7 separate regions of the Homo sapiens genome follow, and regions 1, 2, 4, 5, 6 and 7 are each linked to region 3. The links are contacts of gene promoters, found by promoter capture Hi-C in human tissues and cell types (Jung and others, 2019). All regions are on one chromosome and are shown on one strand. Each heading gives the region's core, a stretch centred on a gene start or on the middle of the fragment in contact. The rest is flanking DNA. Distances are from core to core; before and after follow the strand shown.

The links. Contacts are between HindIII fragments. The study calls those that stand out against the background at their distance.
Region 1: the fragment with the promoter of NAIF1 here is called in contact with the fragment with the promoter of SPTAN1 in region 3 in 2 of the 25 tissues and cell types used here (aorta and hippocampus).
Region 2: a fragment that was not itself captured here is called in contact with the fragment with the promoter of SPTAN1 in region 3 in 1 of the 25 tissues and cell types used here (liver).
Region 4: a contact is called between the fragment with the promoter of PTGES2 here and the fragment with the promoter of SPTAN1 in region 3, in 1 of the 25 tissues and cell types used here (bladder).
Region 5: a fragment that was not itself captured here is called in contact with the fragment with the promoter of SPTAN1 in region 3 in 1 of the 25 tissues and cell types used here (hippocampus).
Region 6: a fragment that was not itself captured here is called in contact with the fragment with the promoter of SPTAN1 in region 3 in 3 of the 25 tissues and cell types used here (aorta, hippocampus and lymphoblastoid cells).
Region 7: a fragment that was not itself captured here is called in contact with the fragment with the promoter of SPTAN1 in region 3 in 1 of the 25 tissues and cell types used here (heart right ventricle).

The regions. Positions count from the first base shown.
Region 1 is chr9:128,065,818-128,069,188 of GRCh38, reverse strand. It overlaps NAIF1 (nuclear apoptosis inducing factor 1), which reads left to right and starts at 1,869. Exons shown (of 2, transcript NM_197956.4): 1 at 1,869-2,598. The coding sequence starts at 2,088. It overlaps SLC25A25 (solute carrier family 25 member 25), which reads right to left and starts at 957. Exons shown (of 11, transcript NM_001330988.2): 1 at 609-957. The coding sequence starts at 869. RefSeq lists a silencer at 661-1,230 and an enhancer at 1,681-2,010. The HindIII fragment of the contact is 18,346 bases long and covers 1-3,371 here.
Region 2 is chr9:128,222,977-128,225,724 of GRCh38, reverse strand. It overlaps DNM1 (dynamin 1), which reads right to left. Exons shown (of 22, transcript NM_004408.4): 10 at 1,336-1,474. Among named protein-coding and RNA genes, the nearest start is that of MIR199B, 20 kb to the left of the region's middle. The HindIII fragment of the contact is 4,555 bases long and covers 1-2,748 here.
Region 3 is chr9:128,550,841-128,554,418 of GRCh38, reverse strand. SPTAN1 (spectrin alpha, non-erythrocytic 1) reads right to left here and starts at 1,832. Exons shown (of 57, transcript NM_001130438.3): 1 at 1,723-1,832. LOC101929270 (a long non-coding RNA gene) reads left to right here and starts at 2,006. Exons shown (of 4, transcript NR_188457.1): 1 at 2,006-2,051. RefSeq lists a silencer at 1,419-2,188. The HindIII fragment of the contact is 8,229 bases long and covers 1-3,455 here.
Region 4 is chr9:128,125,452-128,128,978 of GRCh38, reverse strand. PTGES2 (prostaglandin E synthase 2) reads left to right here and starts at 1,250. Exons shown (of 7, transcript NM_025072.7): 1 at 1,250-1,540. The coding sequence starts at 1,262. It overlaps PTGES2-DT (PTGES2 divergent transcript), which reads right to left and starts at 450. Exons shown (of 1, transcript NR_024425.1): 1 at 1-450. RefSeq lists silencers at 240-349, 380-579, 1,220-1,509 and enhancers at 890-1,009, 1,650-1,729. The HindIII fragment of the contact is 32,314 bases long and covers 1-2,910 here.
Region 5 is chr9:128,199,376-128,203,064 of GRCh38, reverse strand. It overlaps a transcript of CIZ1 not described here. Among named protein-coding and RNA genes, the nearest start is that of DNM1, 2.2 kb to the left of the region's middle. RefSeq lists an enhancer at 1-3. The HindIII fragment of the contact is 4,461 bases long and covers 1-3,689 here.
Region 6 is chr9:128,846,304-128,849,618 of GRCh38, reverse strand. All of the region lies in intron 1 of KYAT1-SPOUT1 (KYAT1-SPOUT1 readthrough), which reads left to right. The region is part of intron 1 of KYAT1 (kynurenine aminotransferase 1); the gene reads left to right. Among named protein-coding and RNA genes, the nearest start is that of SPOUT1, 18 kb to the right of the region's middle. The HindIII fragment of the contact is 3,862 bases long and covers 1-3,315 here.
Region 7 is chr9:128,863,457-128,866,907 of GRCh38, reverse strand. All of the region lies in intron 1 of KYAT1-SPOUT1 (KYAT1-SPOUT1 readthrough), which reads left to right. The region is part of intron 1 of KYAT1 (kynurenine aminotransferase 1); the gene reads left to right. Among named protein-coding and RNA genes, the nearest start is that of KYAT1, 17 kb to the left of the region's middle. RefSeq lists an enhancer at 3,024-3,318. The HindIII fragment of the contact is 3,497 bases long and covers 1-3,374 here.

The sequences.
Region 1 (3,371 bases), core at 620-3,119, 490 kb after region 3:
TTCTTTCACTCCGTCCACACTCCAACCCCGCGGGGATCACGATCCCATTTTCTGGATAAACAGGGCAATGGAGATGAGCCTAAACCATGAGAACTGTCAGTCTTCGCCGCCAACGTCCACACGGATCAGCCTGAAACCCCAATACCAATTTTTTTTTCAACTCCCACATGTTCCTGAGAGGAACCAGATCAGGGCCCACGGCTGGCATGGAAACGAGAGGGAAAGGAGGGGGTGCTGCTGGGGACTGATGGATGAACCCATCCTTGGGTGAAGGGAGCGTCCAGCTTGGCCTTGAGGTCAGGAGGTGACAAAGGCACACTCCTGAGACCTGGCCTTCTACTCTGGGCAAGAAAGGGCTTTTCGCCCATCAGAAAGCCCATAGGATGCCCACCTGTGTCCACGAAGAACCCGGCTCAAGCACCCAAAGAAGTCAGGAAGGAGCCCCGCTCCCACCAGGGCATAAGTGGGGTGTCCCTCAGTGAGTCAGGGGGCACCCTTCCTCTGGACAGTGGGGGTTCCGCCCAGCCCAAGGGGCCGTCCCCCGAGACCTGTCACCCGGCCCTCGAGGGGCTCCCTCCCCGCCAGTGCTGAGGACGCGCGCAGCCTACCTGGAGCTCGCCCTCGGTGCGGTGCAGTCCCAGGCGCCGCAGCCCCACCGCCAGGTCGTTGACACACAGGCCGCCGTCCCGGTTGACGTCGAGCGTCTGAAAGAGTCTCCACAGGCGCAGCCGGTGGTCCGGGCCCCCGCAGATAGCGCCGCCGCAGGGGTCCCCCACGGACGCCGGCGATGAGGCAGACGAAGAGGCGGCGGTGGCGGCGGCGTCCGGCGGCGGGGAGGCCACACAGCGGCACAACACACTGCTCACCATCGGGCGCGAGGCAGGGGCTCCGGGCGCGGGCGGGAGCGGGGGCGGCGGGCCGGCGGTGACCGCGCGGGAGGCAAGCCAGGCGCTCTGCAGCTGGGAGCGCGGGCTCGGAGACGCCGGCAAGCTGGCGGAAGGGGCGGCTTCCGGGAGCCCCGCCCCTCCGCGCCCCGCTTCGCCGGCCACGCCCGGGCGCACCGAAGGCCAGTCACAGGCTCGGATGGGGAGGAGGGAGGGGCGGAGCCTGTCTAAGGACAGCCCACGCGCCACGGACTACCCGGATCAATGGGGTGGGCGGGGTCACCCGGCTCCGCCTGGGGCCGATTCAAACTGAGGGAGGCGGGGATTGGCTGAGCCGGGGGCCAAGAGAGAGAAAATCACGCAGCGATAGGCATGAGTAATGTGATTGGCAGGCGGAAGGCCCCGTGTCCAGTTTCCATTGATGAACTAACTCTGTTTAGACTGCGGGATCTTAAGGATGGGAGGAGCGGTAGTGTACGGAGAGATCGTAGCCTCCAGTGGGAAACAGGATTTGTGTGAGAGCATTTGTGAACTGCAGTTGCGAGGCAGAGTTTGTGCCGGTGGGAGGAATTAAAAGTTAATTGACCCATGGGTCACGGCCGAAAGCACTAAGTATCCTCAGGAAGCAGGGTTTTGGTAATCTAACTCCCTAAACCACCAATAAAATAGCTGAATTTAACGGCTTAATAGTCGTAATACTGACAATTGAACGACAGAATGATTTTCCAATGGAAGTGAATAAAGGTTAGGTGGGCGGGGCCCTCTGGGCGACGGACACAATTTTAGACCAATGATCAGGCGAATTACAGTAAGCAGGCGTGCTCTTTAGCTGAGCGACAGATCGAAAGAACCAGTGATCGACGTGATATTTGAGCAGCTACCAACCGGGAAGGCCGGTTTTCCCGGAGAAGCGCTGGGAGGCGGGAAGAGGGGAAGTGGGCGGATCTCCGCACACCTCGGCGGAAGAGGCAGATTCAGGAAGCCATTACGCTGCTGGCTGGCAGCGGCCGGGCCGGTCGGGGCTGGGCCCTACGCACTTTGCGTAGCGAGGGGGGTTACCAAAGGCCTAGTGCTTGGCCTCGAGCAAGCCTGGCCTATCCCCTGTAGGGGGTGGGTGAGGGGCGAGGCTGAGGAAGAAGAGAAGGGGAATTGGGGCGCTTGAGGGGATTATAATTTCTTTAAAAAGAGGGGAGGGGAGAGGCCATGGCCGTCCCAGCCAAGAAAAGGAAGATGAACTTCTCAGAGCGGGAGGTGGAGATCATCGTGGAGGAGCTGGAGCTGAAGAAGCACCTGCTGGTGAACCACTTCAACGCCGGGGTACCCCTGGCCGCCAAGAGTGCGGCCTGGCACGGCATCCTGAGAAGGGTCAACGCCGTGGCCACCTGCCGCAGAGAGCTGCCTGAGGTCAAGAAGAAGTGGTCTGACCTCAAGACCGAGGTCCGTCGCAAGGTTGCCCAGGTCCGGGCCGCCGTGGAGGGTGGTGAGGCGCCGGGGCCCACTGAGGAGGACGGAGCTGGGGGGCCTGGGACAGGCGGTGGCAGTGGTGGCGGTGGCCCAGCTGTAGCCCCAGTGCTGCTGACCCCCATGCAACAACGTATCTGCAACCTGCTGGGCGAGGCCACCATCATCAGCCTGCCCAGCACCACAGAGATCCACCCTGTGGCCCTCGGACCCTCGGCCACCGCAGCCGCAGCCACGGTCACCCTGACACAGAGTGAGTGACCTCTCCTGCCCAGGCGGCGTGCATAAGTGGGAAGGGCCAGCAAGCTCTGGGGTGGCCTGGGGAAGGTTGGCTGCCAAGGGTCAGAGGTCAGATGGGGGTCTTGGAAGACCATGAGGCCTTCCAAGAGCAGCACCCAGACAGAAGTGATCTTGCTCTCTTTGGGACTTCCTCAGCACGTGGGCTGGACTTCTGACGTGCTGGATAGCTCGCCACTGAGCATTGCCACCATGTTTGTCCATGACTTACCTCCACTTGCCGAACTGGGTGGTCCTTGAAAACAAGAGACCGTGTCTGTATCCCCACAGGACTTTTCACAGGGCCCGGCTTGTAGTAGACAGCCAGGCCATATTTGTTGAAAAAATTGATGGGAATAATACTGCCCAAGTGAGACAACGATTCTGGATTCTGTTTTCAGTGTGGGGGATCTTTCATCAGGTGCTGCTCAGGAGCCTCATGGTTCCTGGTGTTAATCTACTCCATTCATTCATTCATTCATTCATCAAACATTAGCACTTATTCTGTACCAAACCCTGTGCTGGGCACTGGGATTACCAAGTTGTCTAAAATACAGGCCAGTTATGTTCTAGTAGGACAGAGATGACACATATAGGAATAGCTTCGCCATCAGTTGGGAAAACCTCAGGCCCCGGAAGAGGAAGGGGGCTTCTTGGTGGCATAAGGACACATAGCTGACATTGGCGTTGAAGGGTGGAGGAGCTTGACCTCTCCCACATGCGCGGAGGCCCATACAGCCCAGCCAGGAT
Region 2 (2,748 bases), core at 249-2,748, 330 kb after region 3:
CAGATCCTCTTCCCAGGGATGCTCCCCTGCTCCTCGGCCTCACTGAGGCTGCCTGCTCTCTCCCAGTGCCGTCTTTGTCCACAGCCTTGGGTTCTCCTAAGGAGCTGACCCAGGCCAGGACAAGGCCAGGACCTCATCCACCCATCCTGTTCAATTCTACGTTTCCCAGTGTCCCAGAATTTGCTTCATCCTGACTCCAAACCTCAGTACCATTCCCTATCTCTAGGGTTGCCGCATCCAGCTGCCCAGGCCATGCACTGCACAACTCCAGGGGGGTCCATTCCCGTAAACCGTGGCGCAGAGGCTGCCTCCTAGGGTTGCAGTATAGCAGCCTGACCTCCCTCTCCAGCTCCCTGCTCTAGTCCCGCCCCTCCCTTTCTCTTCAAGGGGCATTCCTGGCCTCTCCTCCACAGGGGTTTGGTGGAACCAAAAGACAGAAAGAGAAGAGGAAAGACAGAAAGAGTAGAGGTAGTGATAGAGAGGGGCCGGGACAGCAGTGGGGAGAGGAAAGGAAGGGAGGCTGGAGGGTGGAATCGAGGAGCACTGGACTTGGAGTCCAGAGCCGTGGCTTCAAGTAACAGCTCTGCCACCTCCTGACTACTGTGACTTGGGCAAGCCACTTGATCTCCTGGAGCTTCAGTGTTCGTGCTGTGAAATGGGCACCGTCCTCCCTGTCCTGCCTCCCTGCGTGCTTCTGTGAGGCTTGGATGGTGGGGCAGATGGGAGAAGGGCTCTATCCCTGGAAAGCCAGATGTGGATGGAAGGGAGGGAGAGGCCCTGAGTGAGGGTCTTACGTGAGCATCCTGTGTGAGGGTCCTGAGTGAGGGTGAGATGAGTATGGGGAGGATGAAGGACAGCGGGGAGCCAGGGCACCTGCTAGTCCTGGGTCCTCTGCACCCCCTCTGGCCACCCAGGCCCACCGAGCAGTGCCCGAGAAGGCCCTGCATTTCACCTGTCTCCAAGGCTAAGGTTTCCCCAGACCCCTCCCTGGAGCTCCCAAAGATGACACCTCCGAGGACAGGGAGGGGGCTCAGGGTCCCCTCAAGCCCTATTCTCTGAGCTGGGGGAGCTCTTGGTGGGCTCTTGGGGTAAACAGCCAGCCATCATCCCCGTCTCACCCATGTCCAATCCCTGGGTCCCCAGACCTGGGGGCCAGGGGTGGGTGAGGCCCTCTCAGAGGCACATTGTCTCCTATTCAGTGGTGGCCTGCCTCCCCACCCCGCTGAGGTCTGTACATGCTACCGAGGAGGCAGGGGGGGACATGGGGAAGGAGCGCCTGGCAGCAGTGCAGGGCGGGGCAGAGGCGGTGGGGGCTGGCCCGGGCCTCCGGGTTACCTTCTTGGTGCACTGTCTAACGGTGCTGATTAGCTCCGAGATAACCATGTCCACACACTTGAGACACGGTTCTCGGATCTTCTTCACCTGCTTTTTCACAATGGTCTCAAAGGCCATGTCTGGGGTAAACAGCCCCGTTCTGAACGCCCGGAGCGGGAGAAGGGCAGAGTGTCACAGGCCAGTGCCGGCCAGGAGGGCCAGGCCGAGGCTCCTCCCCAAGCCCACGAACTCTGCCTGAGGGGCCCTTCCACTACCCCTCTCTGGGCCTCAGTGTCCCCAGTTGTAAAATGGGAGGGAGGGGTTCTAATGAAGGGTTTTTTGTTGTTGTTGTTATTTTTTTTGAGACGGAGTCTTGCTCTGTCGCCCAGGCTGGAGTGCAGTGGCGCAATCTTGGCTCACTGCAACCTCCGCCTCCCGGGTTCACGCCATTCTCCTGCCTCAGCCTCCCAAGTAGCTGGGACTACAGGCGCCTGCCACCACGCCCGGCTAATTTTTTCGTATTTTTAGTAGAGACAGGGTTTCACCGTGTTAGCCAGGATGGTCTCGATCTCCTGACCTCATGATCCGCCTGCCTCGGCCTTCCAAAGTGCTGGGATTACAGGCGTGAGCCACCGCGCCCGGCCCTAATGAGGCTCTTTGGGGCAAGACAAGGTGGTTGAGTATCTGATATGTAAGTCCTGCTTCCTCGTAAGGGTCTGTGCATATAGGAAGTTCTATGGCCAGAAATGGCTTGAAAATTGCCAAACGTGGTTCTCCATAAGAGCCTTTCCAGGAATAGAGTGTTTTGTTTTAAGACTAGGAAAGAGATCTTTTTTCTGTGAATTGGCCAGTGCAGTTATCAGGAAGTAAATTCCATGCCAAATCTTGGAAATGAACCTGCATGAGAGCAAGGGGACACTGGGTCTTGTTCACTGCTTGGCATAGGGTAGGTGCTTTAAATTTTCCGGCCCAGTGGATTTGTTGGATGAACACAGCATAGATCTGGGTCCCTGAAGGGGATCTAAGCTTTTAAGGAACAGATTCCACCTCCCAATCCTGTTTCCTACTCCACGGGTTGCCTAGAAGGAGGGCGGTGGGGTGGAATGGGACTGACTCTGGGCTACTGTGAATACAGGAGGGTGTGGAGGATTGCAAAGTCCCCGGCCGTCATAAAAGGACACAGCCTCATACTTAGATGCTCCACCCCAGGCCCTCGTAGTGGTTTGGACATCTTTGTCCGGTTACCTGGGTGGCACTGGGGGAGCTATCTCACCCTGGGGATGGGCCCAGCCCCAGAGGGTGTTTCCCCGGCCACCTGCGCCCTGGGCTGTGCCCAGTTGGCCCAGCAAGTTGCAGTAGGCGGGGTGGCCCGGGTCCACCTCCCCAAGCTGGAGCCTGTCATGCAGGGAGCCAGAAAGTTGGGGTCGAGAGGAC
Region 3 (3,578 bases), core at 583-3,082:
TGTGCACCTCTTCATCATATTGCTTGACAGGCTTACACTGCAGCCTGTGACATACCAGATTTCTCCAATTATTAGATGACTACAAAACACACTGCCAAGACCAAAGCATATCAGAGAATCAGTTACTAGGCTGATGGTTTGCCATAAGAACTGCTTCACACTTGTCCAGGATGAAGCAAAAATCCTCCTTTCCAGTCTCTCCATCAAGGTCCCTGGATAACAGTTAACACACTTTGAGGGTCCCTTTGAGTAATTATTGGCCCAGTTACTAAAAAAGGCTTATTGTTAATTTCCTGCACAGAGGCCTTTACTGCAGCACTTTTTTTTTCCTCCGCAGCACATTCAATTTGACCTTTCAAAATCTAAGACATTAGTTAGCTGCAATGAAAGGGAAAATAAACGACTAGTTAAGGAGTCGGAACCTTGACTCAATGGCTTCATATAGCTGAGTGTTCCTCCTGCTATTTCCAAGATTTTCTGTTTCCTGGCTCCAAGACACCCCCACCCTTCCATCTTTGATACATTCTGTTTTACTTAAGGCCAATTGCTATGACGACGCAATTTCTCAACACATTATGAAAATACTTCATATGGCCTCTCTCCTGTTCTTCCCGAACAGCCATGATGGTAAGTTTTTCTAAAATAACATGATGAAGACAGAACAAAGGGCTTAAATATTTTAGGATCTATTATATAAAAGAGATCTGATTAGATGTTGGAACAGTTCAAGCATCATCTCAACCCAGCTTTCTGAGCTATTTAGGCTTTTCATTTAAAACATATTCAACTTTTAACAAGGCGCTTATTTAAAATATATTTTACTCTAGTACATCAGAGACTTTTGAAAGCGATGTTCTAGGGGAAGCGTCTAATCAAATTCTCAGGGACAGCTTTCAAACAAAAGACTGTTCTATCATTCAACAGTGGTATGGTAGAATTTTTGACACTGTATCTCGACTCGAAAGACCCAGTCCCAGGAAACACACACACAAACAAGAACGCTAAGCTATTAAGTTATTTGATTTGAGCCACATACCATGCAAGCACTGCATTTACCTATTATTTACAAGCAAATCACAACTAGGAAGAAAGAAAAATGTTTATTACAAGGAAAGAAAAGGAGACGGCCAGTCTCAGACCCTTCTGCGTTCAGAGAGACGGCAGAGATTCGCCATGCAGGATGAAATTAAGGTCAGAGAGCCGTTTACGCTATGCTCGGGCTCCCCGGGCTCTTCCTCCCTCTACGGCTGGCCGGCATTGCTGGTGCGATTCGGAAGAACGAGCTGCAGAAGTCGCTCCCGGCCGAGGGAAGGGACCGGGGGCGGTGCGGGGAGCGTTCTGCAGGGAGGCGGCTGGCGAAGATCCCGACGAGGGAGCCCCCACCCACCTGCCGCAGCCGGATGGGGCAGGGCAGGGCCGCGCCGCAGCCAGGCTTGGGGGTGGTTGGGAGGGACCCGGCGGCCTCGCGCCCCCTCCCCCCGTCAGTGACATTCCAGCGGCGGCGCCGAGCCTCGGCCCGGCTGCTCCTCCGCAGCCCACGCGCCACAAAAGCAGCGGCAGCGGCTTCCCCCACTCAGCCGAATGGAGGCAGCCCCGCGGCCCGCCCGGCTCACCTGTCCGCGCGCCGGCCCCGCCCCGCCTGAAGAGCTGCCCAGCTCCCACCCGGGGGTCGGCTGCCCGGGGCCCCGCTCCCTCCCGGAGCTCCCCGGCTGCCCCTCTCACCGGCTCTCGGGGGGTGAGGGGCGTGGGTGCGTCGGGCCGAGGGGTGCTGAAGGACCGAGGAGCCTCCGCGGCCTCCGCTCCACACCGTTCACTCCGCAGCGGGTAGTGGCGGCGACGCGCGCGCCCCGCCTCTTTTATAAGCGGCTACGCGCGCTCCCGCGGCGGGCGGGCGCGAGCGCCGGGGGAAGCGCCCCGGCGCTGCGCGAGGGGTGGGGGAGCGCGCCGGCGGAGCAAAGGGGGCGGTGCTCCCGCCGGCTCGCCGCCCGACCGCCCGGCGGAAAGGGCCGAGCGATCCCGGAAGGAGCCGAAGCGACAATGCGGGGGAAGAGGTGAGCGAGGGGCGGGCCGCGGGAGGATGGGGAAATGGGGCGCGCGCAAGGGGTGAGGGGTGATGGTGCAGTGAGGTCACTGCCTACGCCCTGGCGGTAGAGACGCTCCCGCCTCACCTCCCTCCCCGCAGCTTGCGCCCCGCCACCGCCCGCCCTGCGGACAGTCGTCTGCATCGCACCACTCCGCCCTGGGAGCTCTTCCAGGACTGCGGAGAAGGGCGGGGCGGGGGTATCGCTGCAGTCTGGCTGGGGATGCTGCGCGCCCCGGCCGGAAAAACGCCCAGTCCCAAAGGGTGAGATCACCCGAGTGCGTCTCTTCCTGCTCACTTTCCCGAGGAGGAGGCTGGCGCTGGGGTCCCAAGTCAGCCTAATTCGGTGGGGGCTGGGGTCAAGAAGACGCGGATGATTTGGGGCCCCGGGTTTGAGGAGGTGGTGAGAGGAAAAGGCCAAATCCGAATCAGAAAAAAAATTAAGTCGACTAATTTGGGGCATAAAGCTGTCATTCTGGGATTTGGAGAGTTAATTTCTTATGTTCTTGGAGATTATGGGGGAGGAAACGGCAGCGGCAAAATAATAATTTCTTACATTCCTGCAACAAAAGCTTTCTCACAGGTCGCCAGTGGAATAGGCTACATTCATCCTATTTCATAAACAAGACATTAAGGTTCTTTCTGGCACAATTAATCGAACTTGCCTTGTGTACTAGGCACTATGCTAAGTATTTCGTGTTACCTTTTCATTTCTTAATCTTTGCAATAATTTTATGAGATGTTTTCCCATTTTACAAATGGGCACTCTTACATAATGCTCATGTAGGCTAAGTCTCTTGGCCCAGGTCAGGCAGCTACCAATTGGAAGAGCTAGGATTTACATCTCAGCAGTCAGAACCTTCCCTTTGCAACCGTATGTGTATTGCCTTCAAATAGGAAAGGGAGGCATTTTGATGCGGGTGGCTGCTGGGGTGCAGAAAGAGAAAAATAAGATTCTCAGAATTTCTGATACTTAAAGTCCTAGCAGTTTAAGGTCCTGGCTCTAAACTCTGTAGCCAGAAGCCCTGGATTAGGAAGCCCTTTCCCTATCCCCATTCCGGTGACAGCTGGGCCGCAGCCACTGGGAGTAACACCCAGATCATTCCTGTGCAGTCAGGCAGACGGGGAGCTCTGCAGCTTAGGAAGGCTTCAGCCTCCTGGTTACCAAGCAGCTCTCCTCTTTAAATAAATATAAAGTCATTGGACACTGCACCAGAATCTGGGCCCAGACCTGGCCCTGAGCTTCCTGGCCCTCTGCAGTTTGGCTTCTTTCCCCGTGCCTGGGACCTGCAATACGGTTTCTAAGCTGTCCTGGCTGTAGCCATGATACTGAGGAAAAATTTCCCTACCCACTCACTCCATTGGAGTGGAGAGAAAAGCAGTGACCACACCCCAGAAGCTGCTTTAGAGAATCTGTGTAGGAGAAACGTAGGAGCTGAGAGGCATTTCCTGCAATCTTCTATGTAGAGAAAACAGCGCTGAGCAACTCCTCCCTGGA
Region 4 (3,527 bases), core at 1-2,500, 420 kb after region 3:
TGAAGGAAGTGGGTGGAGCAAAACCCATATGGGCGAGTGTCCCAGCAGCTGCCTCAGTTTCCCTATCTGTAAAACGGGGCTGGGGACCTGCAGCTCTCACGGGACTGGTTACCCGCTCGCGGGTGCTCGCCCTGCATCCGAGACAGCACCTACAACTCCAAACCCACTCGGGGCGGGTCGAGGTGGGCCCTTCGGTCCCTTCGAAGCCAACATCCCGATTCCCCTTCCCGGGAAGGCACCCCCGGAAACGCCAAGGTCGCTCCAGCAGTCTCCTCGGGTCACCCGCTTCCCCGAAGCCGTCGTCCTCGCCTTCCGCTCTCGTCTTCACCGGCATACTCAGGTCCCCGCTGGGGACTGACACTGCGGGCTCGGTCGCCGCAAGGACTGGAAGGAAGGTGGAAGATGCGGGGCGAAAGCGGAGCGAGAAGAGTGGGACGCGGCGGAGCAGCAGAGCCGGGACTCAGAGCTCCCCCCTCGCCCCGCCCCTCTCCCCGCCCACTCTGCGAGTCCCGCCCCCTCTCGGGCGCCGGGCGGGGCCATCCCGGGGCTGTCCGCGGAGACGCCTATGCGGTGGAGGCTCCGGGCTTCAGCTAGGGCGGGGGAGCCCAGCAGAAGGACCGAGCAGCCTGGCACCCCACTTTGCCATCCTCTCCCTGGAAATCTCGGGGTCGGCGGGCCGGCCGCTTCGCGTGGGCGAAATCAGAGACACGTGGTTTCCAAGGCCCCTTCGGGTTCGGGAAAATTTTATGGTTCGGGTCACAGTAGGAAGCGGACAATGAGGCGGGAGGGCAGAGAGAACCGCAACACCTGGTGCCGGGTCGGGTCGTTTCCGGGGCTTTCAGTGGCCGGAAGTCGCGGCGCCTGTACTGACTCTAGGAAGGGCTGGAGTTGTTTTGAATGGGCGCCCGTAAGAGAGGTGGGCAAGTACGTGTTACAGACGGCCACGCCGCCCTTTAGGCGGTCAAGGTGGGGCGAGGAGACGTTCGCCCCCCTGCAGTCGGCCGGGTCACTACCCAAGAGCCTTTGGAGGCGGAAGCATGGAACGGTCTGCAAACGTTCCCGAGCGGGCCTCTGCGGCTCTGGCGGGCGTTTCGAACTTGGGCGCCGGGCACACGCCCAGTCCCGAGAGCGCTGAGGGTTCCCTTAGCGTCGCCCTCACCCCGGCCAACCCGCGGGGCGCCAGAGTCCTGGCCCTTTAAACGCCGCGCGTGCCTCGGCGTCTTCGTTTCGCGCGCCCGCCCGCGGCGCCGGCGGAGCGAACATGGACCCGGCTGCGCGGGTGGTGCGGGCGCTGTGGCCTGGTGGGTGCGCCTTGGCCTGGAGGCTGGGAGGCCGCCCCCAGCCGCTGCTACCCACGCAGAGCCGGGCTGGCTTCGCGGGGGCGGCGGGCGGCCCGAGCCCCGTGGCTGCAGCTCGTAAGGGGAGCCCGCGGCTGCTGGGAGCTGCGGCGCTGGCCCTGGGGGGAGCCCTGGGGCTGTACCACACGGCGCGGTGGCACCTGCGCGCCCAGGACCTCCACGCAGAGCGCTCAGCCGCGCAGGTAAGGCCTGGCCCGGCCGGGGATGGGGATGCTGATCAGCGCCGAACTCGGGACTCCTGGGAACCCGCAGGGTCAGGAGTTGCCTCTGCCTGCTTGTGACCTTGGGCGAGTGACTTGGTCTGAAGTCTCCGAACCCTCTGTATTCTTTTGTGTAAAATAGGGGCACTCCTGATGCCTACTACCTGGAATTGTTCGAGTTCTCATAAAATCGTTCTTCTACCGTGGTTTTTTTTTTTTTTTTTTTTTTGGTTTGTTTATTTATGTTTTCGAGACAGGGTCTCGCATTATCGCCCAGGCTGGAGTGCGATCGCGGCTCACTGCAGCCTCTGCCTCCCAGGTTGAAGGGATCCTCCTGCCTCAGCCTCCCGAGTAGCTGGGACTATAGGCTCACCCCACTGCGCCCTGCTAATTTTTGTATTTTTTGTAGAGATAGGGTTTCACCATGTCGCCCAGGCTGGTCTCGAACTCCTGGCCTCAAGTGATCCGCCCACCTTGGCCTCTGAAAGTGCTGGGATCACAGGCGTGAGCCACTGCGCCCAGCCTTTACCATGTTTTAAGGAGACTTTTTTTTTTTGAGACGGAGTTTTTTTTTGCTCTGTTGCCCAGGCTGGAGTGCAGTGGCGCGATCTCGGTTCACTGCAACCTCCGCCTCCTGGGTTCAAGCAATTCTCCTGCCTCAGCCTCCCCAGTAGCTGGGATTACAGGCGCCTGCCACCCAGCCCGGCTAATTTTTGTATTTTTACTAGAGACGGGGGTCTCACCATGTTGGCCAAGCTGGTCTCGAACTCCTGACCTCAAATGAGCCACCCGCCTCGGCCTCCCAAAGTGCTGGGATTACAGGTGTGAGCCACGGAGCCCAGCCTCTACCGTGTTTTAAGACTTTTTTGATTAAGAGATGGGAGATCACAGGAAAGGGAAAGCCTTTTTCACTTTCCAAACGTTCATCATCCTCTCTCCCCACTGCCCCCAAATCCTAAGGCTGTGTATTTATTTAGTAGTAGTGGTGGTACCTTTATGGAACTGATGACTTAGACTCCAGGCTGAAACAGGAAGAGGTAGAAAGGTGCCCCCCCCAAGTGGTGACCCCCTAAGTGGTGGCCCAGCTGCCTTGAGACACTTTATACCTACCCCACACCTTGCAACTCTTCATTACTTGACTTCCCACCACCCGCCCACAGATGCTTATTTGCTGGACCAGAGGGAACAGAGGTGGGTAAAAAGGGCATGGAGTACTCTGTGTCTCCCTTCCTGCCTCCACGGTCCAGCTTCCCCTCTGAACACAGGGGGATGGTCTACAGTTGTGGCTTCCCGGCATGAACGTGCAGCAGGCTCCCCTGGGGGCTTTCCTGCGGAGCTTGCCACACGCAGGCCTTGGCTCAGATACCACCCTCCCCCTCGGATATTTGAGATAGACTTTGGCTGGAGGATCACATGAACCCCGGAGTTCAAGGCTGCAGTGAGCTGTGATCAAGCTACTGCACTCCAGCTTGGATGGCAGAGTGAGACCCTGTCTCCAGAGAAAAAAACAAGAAAGAGATTGGAGGTAGACCCCACTGGTGAACATGAGCCTGGGTGGTAGCCCAGCTCTGCCCCCAGAGGTCCCTGGGGTTAGAGGAGTGAGAGTGAACAAGTCAAGTTGAAACAGTTGTTCCATGTCTGTGGGAGTGGGGTGTATACCCTGGGGCTGTCTGGTGTCCCCTTGGGACTGGAGTGAGAAAAGAGGGGTCTGTCCAGTATGGGACAGAGACTAGAAGATTCCTCCTACACAACCTCGCAGCAAAGGGTGGGACTCCTGCTTGGGGACCGTGCTGGCCAGGGGCTTAAACCTGGGCTGCTGTCCAGTGCCTCCCTTTCCCCTACCGCCCCCTTCCATCTCTAGTTCCTCTTCCCGATGTTCTAGCGTCATTTCAGAAGACTCCTCTGGAAAACACCCTTGGGGGCAGGGCCTGGGCCTGGGGGTGCCAGGTCTAGAAGCCTTTTCCGTCTG
Region 5 (3,689 bases), core at 755-3,254, 350 kb after region 3:
TCTGAGGTCACAGCCTCCTGACCTCAGAGGTCAGAACTCCGAGATGAGTTCCCCTTCATCTCGCTGGCTTCTATCCCTAGATCCTGACTCTGATCTCCAACATGTCCTCTTCTGCCTTTGGTCCTCAGTTTCCTTGTTTCTAGAAGGAGAAAGTTGGAACATGAATTCAACAAATATTTACTAGGTACCTGCTAGAAGCCAGGCCCTGTCCTAGGCACTGAAGATTCAGCAACGAATAAGACAGCCAAGGCCTCTGCCCTCATAGATCTTGCATCAAGCTGGGGAGACAGACAGTAAATAAGTAAGCAGATAAATGAAATAGTAAAAATGAAAATAATTCATAGTAAGAGGGATGGAGGAAATAAACAGGGTGAAAAAAGGTATCTTTGTGGGTGTGGAAAGTTCACATTGGCTTGGCAGGAGTCGGGGGTGTTCTCTGCAGAAGTGACATTTGAGAAGAGACCAAAATGATGAGAAGGAGCCAGCAGCAAGCAGATCAGGGGAAGAGCATGCCAGGCTGAATGACCAGCAAGTGCAGAGGCCCTGACACCTGGAGGGCCCTTCTTGGGAGAGTTGGAAGCTCTTGTCCTAGAGAGTGGAAGTCTTTGCTCCAACCCATCAGGATGGTGGTAAAACAGCGTAAAACAGTGGGATTCAAATCCAGGGCTCCTACAATCCTACCCTGCGTACCCTTTCACACAGACAGACCATGGGGCCCTGAGCCCAGCCGTCCATCTCTGCATTTAAGAAACCTAATTAGTATTCACGGTGGAGGCTAGGAAGGGAAGGCTAGCCTACACTGTGCTCATGGGGAGTCGGTGAGTCATTTCCCTGCGCTGTGAACAGTGTGGGGGCACTGCTGACAAAGTGGTCTGTGAATTGGAGACTGTTCACTTACTCATCCATTTAATGCGTATTTGTTGAGCCAGGTACTATGCTAGACTCCAGAGATAAAGCAGTGAGCAAAACGGACAAAGTCCTTACCCACATGTGGCTGACAATTCAGTGGAAAAAGACAGACAATATGCAAATAGGGCAATAACGATGGCCCTGTTAGATGGCGTGCCCTGCAGAGCAAGAAAGCAGGGGCGGGGTAGGGTGGTGTTGCTATTGTGAAGATGGTGATCAGAGAGTGACCCTTGTGGGGAGGAATCTTCGAGGCAGGCATGGGGAACAAGCAGGCCCTCTCCCTGGTAGCACCAGAGAGTGGATTAGGAGTCTAATCTGGGCCTTAAACAAGCTGCGTGACCCAGGTCCCTCCACGTCTCTGAACCTCAGTTAACTAATCTGGATAATGGGGATAATAATAGATCAAATGCCTGTGTAGGGCACAGCCCAGGCCTAGTGCTCAGGGGGCCCTTATTAAGCTGCAGCTGTGAGGATGCCAATGATAACAGCTCACCAGACAGCTGGAGCATCAGTGCCACACAACTTGCATGGAACCTGGCAGCTGTTCCATGCCAACCTGTTATTATGCTCTGAGGACAAGAGAAGGCAGAGATGGAAGCCTGGATGACTGGCACCAGGAGGGGGTGCAGTTTATAGATGTTTGCCTAGAGGGCATCATGGCTGGGCTTTTAATATTATTTATTTACTTATTTATTTTATTTATTTTTGAGACGGAGTCTCACTCTGTCGCCAGGCTGGAGTGCAGTGGCATGATCTCAGCTCACTGCAACCTCTGCCTCCTGGGTTCAAGCGATTCTCCTGCCTCAGCCTCCCGAGTAGCTGGGACTACAGGCACGTGCCACCACTCCTAGCTAATTTTTGTATTTTTTGTTTGTTTGTTTGTTTTTTGAGACGGAATCTCGCTCTGTTACCCAGGCTAGAGTGCAGTGGTGCGATCTTGGCTCACTGCAACCTCCACCTCCTGGGTTCAAGCAATTCTCCTGCCTCAGCCTCCCAAGTAGCTGGGACTACAGGCTCGTGCCACCACGCCCGGCTAATGTTTTGTATTTTTAGTAGAGATAGGGTTTCACCGTGTTAGCCAGGATGGTTTCCATCTCCTGACCTTGTGATCTGCCTGCCTCTGCCTCCCAAAGTGCTGGGATTACAGGTGTGAACCACTGCGCCCGGCCAATTTTTGTATTTTTAGTAGAGATAGGGTTTCACCATGTCGGCCGGGATGGTCTCGATCTCTTGACCTTGTGATCCTCCTGCCTCAGCCTCCCAAAGTGTTGGGATTACGGGAATGAGCCACTGTGCCCAGCCTATTTATTTATTTATTTGAGACGTAGTCTCGCTCTGTCTCCCAGGCTGGAGTGCAGTGTCGTGATCTCAGCTCACTGCAACCTCCGCCTCCCAAGTTCAGGTGATTCTCCTGCCTCAGCCTCCAAAGTAGCTGGGACTACAGGCATGCACCACCACGCCCAGCTAATTTTTTGTATTTCTTTCTTTTTTTTTTTTTGAGACAGAGTCTTGCTCTGTCGCTCAGGTTAGAGTGCAGTGGTGTGATCTCAGCTCACTGCAACCTCTCCCTCCCTGGTTCAAGGAATTCTCCTGCCTCAGCCTCCTGAGTAGCTGGGATTACAGGTGCTCGCCACTGTGCCCAGCTAATTTTTGTATTTTTAGTAGAGACGGGGTTTCATCATCTTGGCCAGGCTGGTCTCAAACTCCTGACCTCATGATCTGTCCGCCTCAGCCTCCCAAAATGCTGGGATTATAGCTGTGAGCCACCATGCCCAGCCAGCTTTTATTATTTTTACTTTTTCCCCCCTAATTACAATATTGAAACTTATTGTAAAACCAGACTTTACACAAGTATTTGAAAACCTCTGGTCATCCTCCCACCTAGAGATAACCACTATAGCTTAGGGATCGTTCTCTGGCTTTGTTTTTCATATATGCACATATTCATTTTGTTCCATTTTGTTTTTACAGAAATGGGATTATACTAAGTATCCTATACTGCTGTATCACTGATGCCAGGCCAGCAGCCTGGCATCACATGGAGTTGGTTGAAAAGAAGAATCTCAGGGCCAGGTGCAGTGGCCCACACCTGTAATCCCAGCACTTTAGGAGGCCAAGGCGGGTGGATCACTTGAGGCCAGGAGTTGGAGACCAGCCTGTCCAACATGGCGAAACACCATCTCTACTAAATATACAAAAATTAGCTGGGCATGGTAGCCCGCACCTGTAATCCCAGGTACTCGAGAGGCTGAGGTGGGAGAATTGCTTGAACCTGGGAGGCAGGGGTGGTGGTTGCATCGAGCCGAGATCACACCATGCACTCCAGCCTGGGTGACAGAGCAAGACTCCATCTCAAAAAAAAAAAAAAAAAGAAAGAAAGAAATGGCTTCTTTACTCTCTCTTGAGCTCCCAAAGCTTTTTTGTTTTTGTTTTTTTGTTTGTTTTTAGAGATAAGATAAACCTTGCTCAGCTGCCCAGACTGGAGTGCAGTAGCACAATCGCAGCTCCCTGTAGCCTCAAACTCCTGGGCTCAAGTAGGCTTCCTGCCTCAGCCACCCAAATAGCTGAAACTACAAGTGCACACCACCATGCCCAGTTAATTAAAACAATTTTTTTTTGTACAGACGGGATCTTGCTTTGTTGCCCAGGTTGGTTTTGAACTCCTGGTTTCAAGTGATCCTACTGTTTTGGCCTCCCAAAGTGCTGGCACTATAGGTGTGAGCCACCATACATGGCTGAGCTCCCAAAGTTTTGACCACCAACTGTGCTGGGCAGAATTT
Region 6 (3,315 bases), core at 373-2,872, 300 kb before region 3:
TTTCACCATCTTGGCCAGGCTGGTCTTGAGCTCCTAACCTCATGATCAGCCTGCCTCGGCCTCCCAAAGTGCTGGGATTACAGGCATAAGCTGCCACGCCTGGCCCCAAATTCATTCATTTACATGTGGATATTTAGTTGTCTCAGCACCATTTGTTCATTTGTTGAAAAGATTATTATTTCCCACCCCCCACCCCCGCTTTTTTTTTGAGCCGGTGACTTGCTCTGTCACCCAGCCTGGAGTGCAGTGGTGTGATCTCGGCTCACTGCAACCTCCGCCTCCTGGGTTCCAGCGATTCTCCTGCCTCAGCCTCCTGGGTAGCTGGGACTACAGGCATGTGCCACCATGCCCTGCTAATTTTGTATTTTTCGTAGAAATGGGGTTTCACCATGTTGACCAGGCTGGTATCGAACTCCTGACCTCAGGTGATCCGTCCACCTCAGCCTCCCAAATTGCTGGAATTACAGGCATGAGCCACCATGCCTGGCCTCCCCACCTTTTTTTTTGAGACAGTCTCATTTTGTCGCTTAGGCTGGAGTACAGTGGCACGATCTTGGCTCACTGCAACCTTTGCCTCCCAGGTTCAAGCAGTTCTCCTGCCTCAGCCTCACAAGTAGCTGGGACTACAGTCATGTGCCACCACACCCAGCTAATTTTTTGTATTTTTATTAGAGATGGGGTTTCGCTGGTCTCAAACTCCTGACCTCAAATGATCCTCCCGCCTTGGCCTCCCAAAGTGTTCGTGTTACAGGCATGAGCCACACCCAGCCTCCCAATTTTTTTTTTTTTTTTTTTTTTGAGACAGAGTCTCACTCTGTCACCCAGGCTGGAGTGCAGTGAGTGGCGTGATCTCGGCTCACTGCATCCTCCACCTCCTAAGTTCAAGTGATTCTTCTGCCTCAGCCTCCCAGTAACTGGGATTACAGGTGCACACCACCATGCCTGGCTAATTTTTGTATTTTTAGTAGAGACGAGGTTTTAGCATGTTGGCCAGGCTGGTCACAAACTTCTGACCTGAAGTGATCCACTCGCCTCAGCCTCCCACAGTGCTGGGATTACAGGCGTGAGCCACCATGCCTGGCCCCCATTTGAGTTTCTTAGCATCTTATCAAATAGCAATTGTGACCATTTATTTCTGGACTGTCAGTTCTATTCAATTGACTTATATATCTATCTTTAAGCAGTATCACACTTTCTTGGTTCCTGTATGTTTGCATTAAGCTTCCAAATTGTGCAGTGTGATTTCTTCAATTTTTTTCTTCTTTTTCAGGCATTTACTTTTTTTTTTTTTTTTTTTTTTGAGACATATCTCCCTCTGTCGCCCAGGCTGGAGTGCAGTGGTGGGATCATGGCTCACTGTAGCCTTGACCTCTCCAGGATCAAGTGATTCTCCCACTTTAGCTTCCCCAGTAGCTGGGACTACAGGTGTGCACCATCACACCTGGTCAATTTTTGTATTTTTGTAGAGACGGTGTTTCAGTATGTTGCCCAGGCTGGTCTCAAACTCCTGGGCTCAAGAGATCCTCCTGCTTTGGCCTCCCAAAGTGCTGAGTTTACAGGTGTGAGACACATTGCCCTGCTTGAATTTGTTGATTGCATCTCCATGGTGTTATTTAACATGTTCTTCTGTCCCTGTATTTTAGTCATTCAACAGTGTGATCTAATTTAGGGCCACTTTTACAGCAGGAATAATTTGCAGGTGGTGTATGTGTTTCCAGAGTCAGAACATGTTTGGTTTATGCTCTTGGTGATATTCAGGGCTATCAGTGATCCTCTCCTGGATCATTTTTTAATTAGAGGTGATTTGTGTTTTGAAAGGGTCACTTGGGTTGCTGGGGGGTGTATTGTATATGAGTAACAGGGTTCTTATAAGGACGGAGTCGGATAATCATGCAACAGAGCACTTGGTGCTATTCCTGGCACGCAATGACCATATTGTTGTTGTTGTTGTTGTTGTTGTTGTTGTTATTGTTAGAGCTGTGTGTGGGGGACCCAAGTCCTGAGCTCGGAGGCATTTTCTGGCCAGGGCTGTTTCCTCCCTTCTCCCCTGCCTCTGGAAAAGTCTGCAGTGCCCCAAGGCTCTGGGAGGCATGTTCAGGACTGCAGCAGCCATCTCTGTGCACCTGGTGGGGCCCCTTCAGGGAAGGAAGGCTGGAGCCCCACTCACTTGGTTCTTGCACCAGACTGTAAGTGCCCTAACCCCAATACTCTGCCACCTGCATGGCCTGGGGCTTCTGGGGTCTGGCTCGTTCCTGGCTTCAAAGCTGTGCATGAGCCTTCTCTTTCAGGGAGCCCTCTTTAACTGCAGCCTGTATGTGGGCTTCTCCCTTGCCCCTGCTTCTCTAGTCTAGAACTTGTAGCTCTGCATCTGAATAGTCAGCTTGGGCGCTGTAGGGTGCTGCTTCCCATGATCCCCTGTGCCCATCCCAGAACCCAGTACCTGGTAGGGACTCAATAAATGTCAACTGAGCCAGGCGCGGTGGGGTTCCTGGGCCATGGAAGACCTGGCACTTACTCAAATGGTCCCAAGGCCCCTCCAGGACAGGGGGGCCTGGTGTTGAGATTACTGTGGCTGCCACCCTGACCAGGTCCTTGCCAGCTTCTCTTCTGACCCTGGGCAGGTACCTGAGCCTCTTCAAGCCTCAGTGTCCTCATCTGTTAGATGGAGACTATTGTGGCACCTCTAGTGAGAGTGCAGTGGGAACTGAGCGAGGTGGAACTGAGCAAAATCCTGAGCCAGGGTTCACTATTGACCACAGCAGGTGGCTGAGAAGAATGTTGGATCCCCAGCTCCACGGCCCACCAGCCATCTGGGACTGGCAAACCCACAGGAACGGAAGGTTCCTCAGGGACCACAAAGCCCATGTGAGGTCCCTGCTGCTGAAGGGATTCTGAGGACAGGAGGAGCCAAATTACCTATCCAGGGTCACCCAGCCAAGGTGGGTTAGGACCTGAGTTTGGTGGCTCTCAGGTCTGGCCAATTTCTTTCTTTCTTTTTTTTTTTTTTTTTTTTTTTTTGGTAGAGTCTTGCTCGTTGGGTCGGGCAGGAGTGCAGTGGCTGGCACGATCTTGGCCCACTGCAATCTCCATCTCCCAGGTTCAAGTGATTCTCAGGCCTCAGCCTCCTGAGTAGCTGGGATTACAGGCATGTGTCATGACGCCCAGATAAGTTTCTTTGTTTGTTTTTCCCAGACTGAGTTTCACTCTAATGCTCAGGCTGGAGTGCAGTGGTGTGCTCTTGCCTCACTGCAATGTCTGCCTCCCAGGTTCAAGTGATTCTTGTGCCTCAGCCTCCCAAGTAGCTGGGATAACAGG
Region 7 (3,451 bases), core at 377-2,876, 310 kb before region 3:
TTGAGACAGAGTCTCGCTCTGTCACCCAGACTGGAGTGCAGTGGCACGATCTCAGTTCACCACAACCTCCGCCTCCTGGGCTCAAGCGATTCTCCTGCCTCAGCCTCCCAAGCAGCTGGGATTACAGGCGCACATCACGGCTAATATTTTTTATATTTTTAGTAGAGACAGGGTTTCACCATGTTGGCCAGGCTGGTTTTGAACACCTGGCCTCAAGTGATCTGCCCGCCTTAGCCTCCTAAAGTGCTGGGATTACAGGCATGAGCCACTGCGCCCGGCGACTATTTTCTTTTCTTTTCTTTTCTTTTTGAGACAGAGTCTCGCTCTGTTGCCCAGGCTGGAGTGCAATGGCACGATCTCAGCTCACTGCAACCTCCACTTCCCAGGTTCAAGTGATTATCTCACCTCAGCTTCCCGAGTAGCTGGGATTACAGGTGCCTGCCACCACACCCGGCTAATTTTTGTATTTTAGTAGAGACAGGGTTTCACCATGTTGGCCAGGCTGGTCTCAAACTCCTGACCTCAGGTGATCCGCCTGCCTCAGCCTCCCAAAGTGCTGGGATTACAGGCGTGAGCCACCACACCCAGCGACTATTTGCTTTTGTGAATTTCCCATTTATATCTTTTTCACACTTTTTCTTATTGAGATGCTGGTCTTTTGTTGTCGATTTATACAAATATTTGCATATTAAGGCTCATATTATATTAAAATGGCCCAGTTACTTGTTTGTCTCCTTGATTAGATTGTGCGCTCCTTGGAGGAAAGGAAGGTATCCTATCACCCTTGTATACATGGTGGCTAGCTTAGGGAATGAATAGCACATAATAGGAATTCACTGAGGAGATGTACACTTACCATATGGCAGGCTCTGTGCAAGATGTTGAGAATAAAAAGATGAACAGAAGAGAATCTTTGTTCTAACAAAGCTTACAGTCTGGTGCAAGCGATAGACATTCATTCTCATTCTGCAGGTTTATTGAGCAGCTGCTCTGTGCCAGGTGCATAACGCCCATTGGAAGAGCCAGCCTATTAGGATGAGAAAAATGTCAGGACTGGGACTTCGCTAACCTGGTCCTGGGAAATCTGGGTGGGTCAGTTCCCCATCCCTGGTTATCAGTATCCCCATCAATAAAATGTGAGCCACTGGACCAAATTCTCTCATTTCCCATTGAGCATCCATGCATCTGTGCTGCTTTGGCTTTTGGAAAGTAGGAGTCAGAGTCCTGAGTTCAAATATTGGCTCTGTGCTGGGTGTGGTGGCTCACGCCTGTAATCACAGCACTTTGGGAAGCCGAGGTGGGTGGATCACCTGACGTCAGGAGTTTGAGACCAGCCTGGACAACGTAGTGAAACCCCACCTCTACTAAAAATACAAAATTAGCCTGGTGTGGTGGTGCATGCCTGTAATCCCAGCTACTTGGGAGGCTGAGGCACGAGAATCGCTTGAACCCGGGAGGCAGAGGTTGCAGTGAGCCAAGATCGCACCATTGCACTCCAGCCTGGGCAACAAGAGCGAAACTCTGTCTCAAAAAAAAAAAAAAAAAAAATATATATATATATATATATATATATATATATATATATATATATATATATATGTAGGCTCTGCTACTTGTTAGCTGTGGCCTTGGGTGTGTGACTTAGCCTTTTTTTTTTTTTTTGGTGTGGGAGGGATGTGGGGAGGGACATGGTCTTGCTTTGTCACTCAGGCTGCAGTGCAGTAGTGCAATTATGGCTCACTTCAGCCCCAACCTCCAGGCTCAAGTGATCCTCCCACCTCAGCCTCCCGAGTAGCTGGGACTACAGACGTGCACCACCACTCCCAGATAATTTATTATTTTTTGTAGAGATTGAGTCTCACTACGTTGCCCAGGCTGGTCTCGAACTCCTGGGCTCAAGGGATCCTCCTGCCTTGGCCTCTCTTGCAGGCATAAGCCACTGTACCTGACCACTTAGCCTCTTGAAGGAATCTTTCTTATAGGATTAAAAGTGATGGGAAGCCAGGAGCAGTGACTCACACCTCTAATCCCAGCACTTTGGGAGGCCTAGGCAGGCGGATCACTTGAGGTCAGGAGTTCTAGACCAGCCTGGTCAACATGGTGAAACCCTGTCTCTACTAAAAATACAAAGATTAGCTGGACATGGTGGTGCACAACTGTAGTCCCAGCTACTCGGGAGGCTGAGGCACAAGAATCACTTGAACATGGGAGGCGGAGGTTGCAGAGAGCTGAGATCGCGCTGCTGCACTTCAGCCTGGGCGACAGAGCACGACTTTGTCCCCCAAAAAATAAGTAAATAAATAATAAAAGTGATGGGACCTGATTTCAAGTAGTCAAAATCGCAGAGACAGCAAATGGGCTGGGCTATGGGCCAGAGGGTAAAGGGATGTAATTGTTTAATGGGTACAGAGTTGTCAGTTTTACAAGATGAAAACAGTTCCCAAAACTGTATACCTGTACATAGTTAAGATGGTAAAGTTTATGATATGTGTATTTTACCAAAATTTTTTAAATGAAAAACTTTTTTTTTTTTTTTTTTTTTGAGACAGAGTCTCGCTCTGTCGCCCAGGCTGGAGTGCAATGGCGCAATCTCGGCTCACTACAATCTTCGCCTCCCGGGTTCACAACATTCTCCTGCCTCAGCCTTCCAAGCAGCTGGGACTATAGGCACCCGCCACCATGCCTGGCTAATTTTTTTTTCGTATTTTTAGTAGAGACGGGGTTTCACTGTGTTAGCCAGGACAGTCTCGATCTCCTGACATTGTGATCCACCTGCCTCGGCCTCCCAAAGTGCTGGGATTACAGGTGTGAGCCACCGCGCCCGGCCTGAAAAACATTTTTAAGTGGTGGGACGTGTAGGGCTCCACGGGGCACCTAGCACAGGAAAGCGTGTGGTAAATAAAAGGTGACTGCCAGGGCTGTTGAGGAGCTGACTAGGGAAGGCCTGCTTCCTAGAAAAGGGGTGAGGCGCAGGGCATTGGAGGGAGGTGTGCCTGGGAGGTCAGGAGTCCTGCCTTATGCGGGAACCTGGAGCAGCACCCTCCCTGCTTTGGGCCTCCTCTGTGAAGTGAGGCGTAGTCCCCTCCTGGGGCCAGCAGGTTGCTCTGTGACCTGGGCCAGCAACCTCAAAGCCACGAGGGGCCTGGCTCCTTGCGCCCCCTGCTGGCCGACTCGGGAATAACACACCCACAAGCCCCCAAGTTGCTCCCAACCAACCTGGCCAAGTTGCTGGGTTAAGGCAGCCTACGTGCCCCCTGTACCCTTCTGCTCTTGGCTGAGAACCCCTTATGGCTTCTCCCTCCCTCCCTCCCTCCTAAGTTCCTGGAACCTACCTTCACCACACCCATAAGCTCACAGACACAGACACAGAGATGTGTGCACATGCTCAGGTGCAAGCTCTTGTATTTGGATCCTTTTGTTGTTTTGGTTTTTTTTTTTGTAGAGAAAGGGT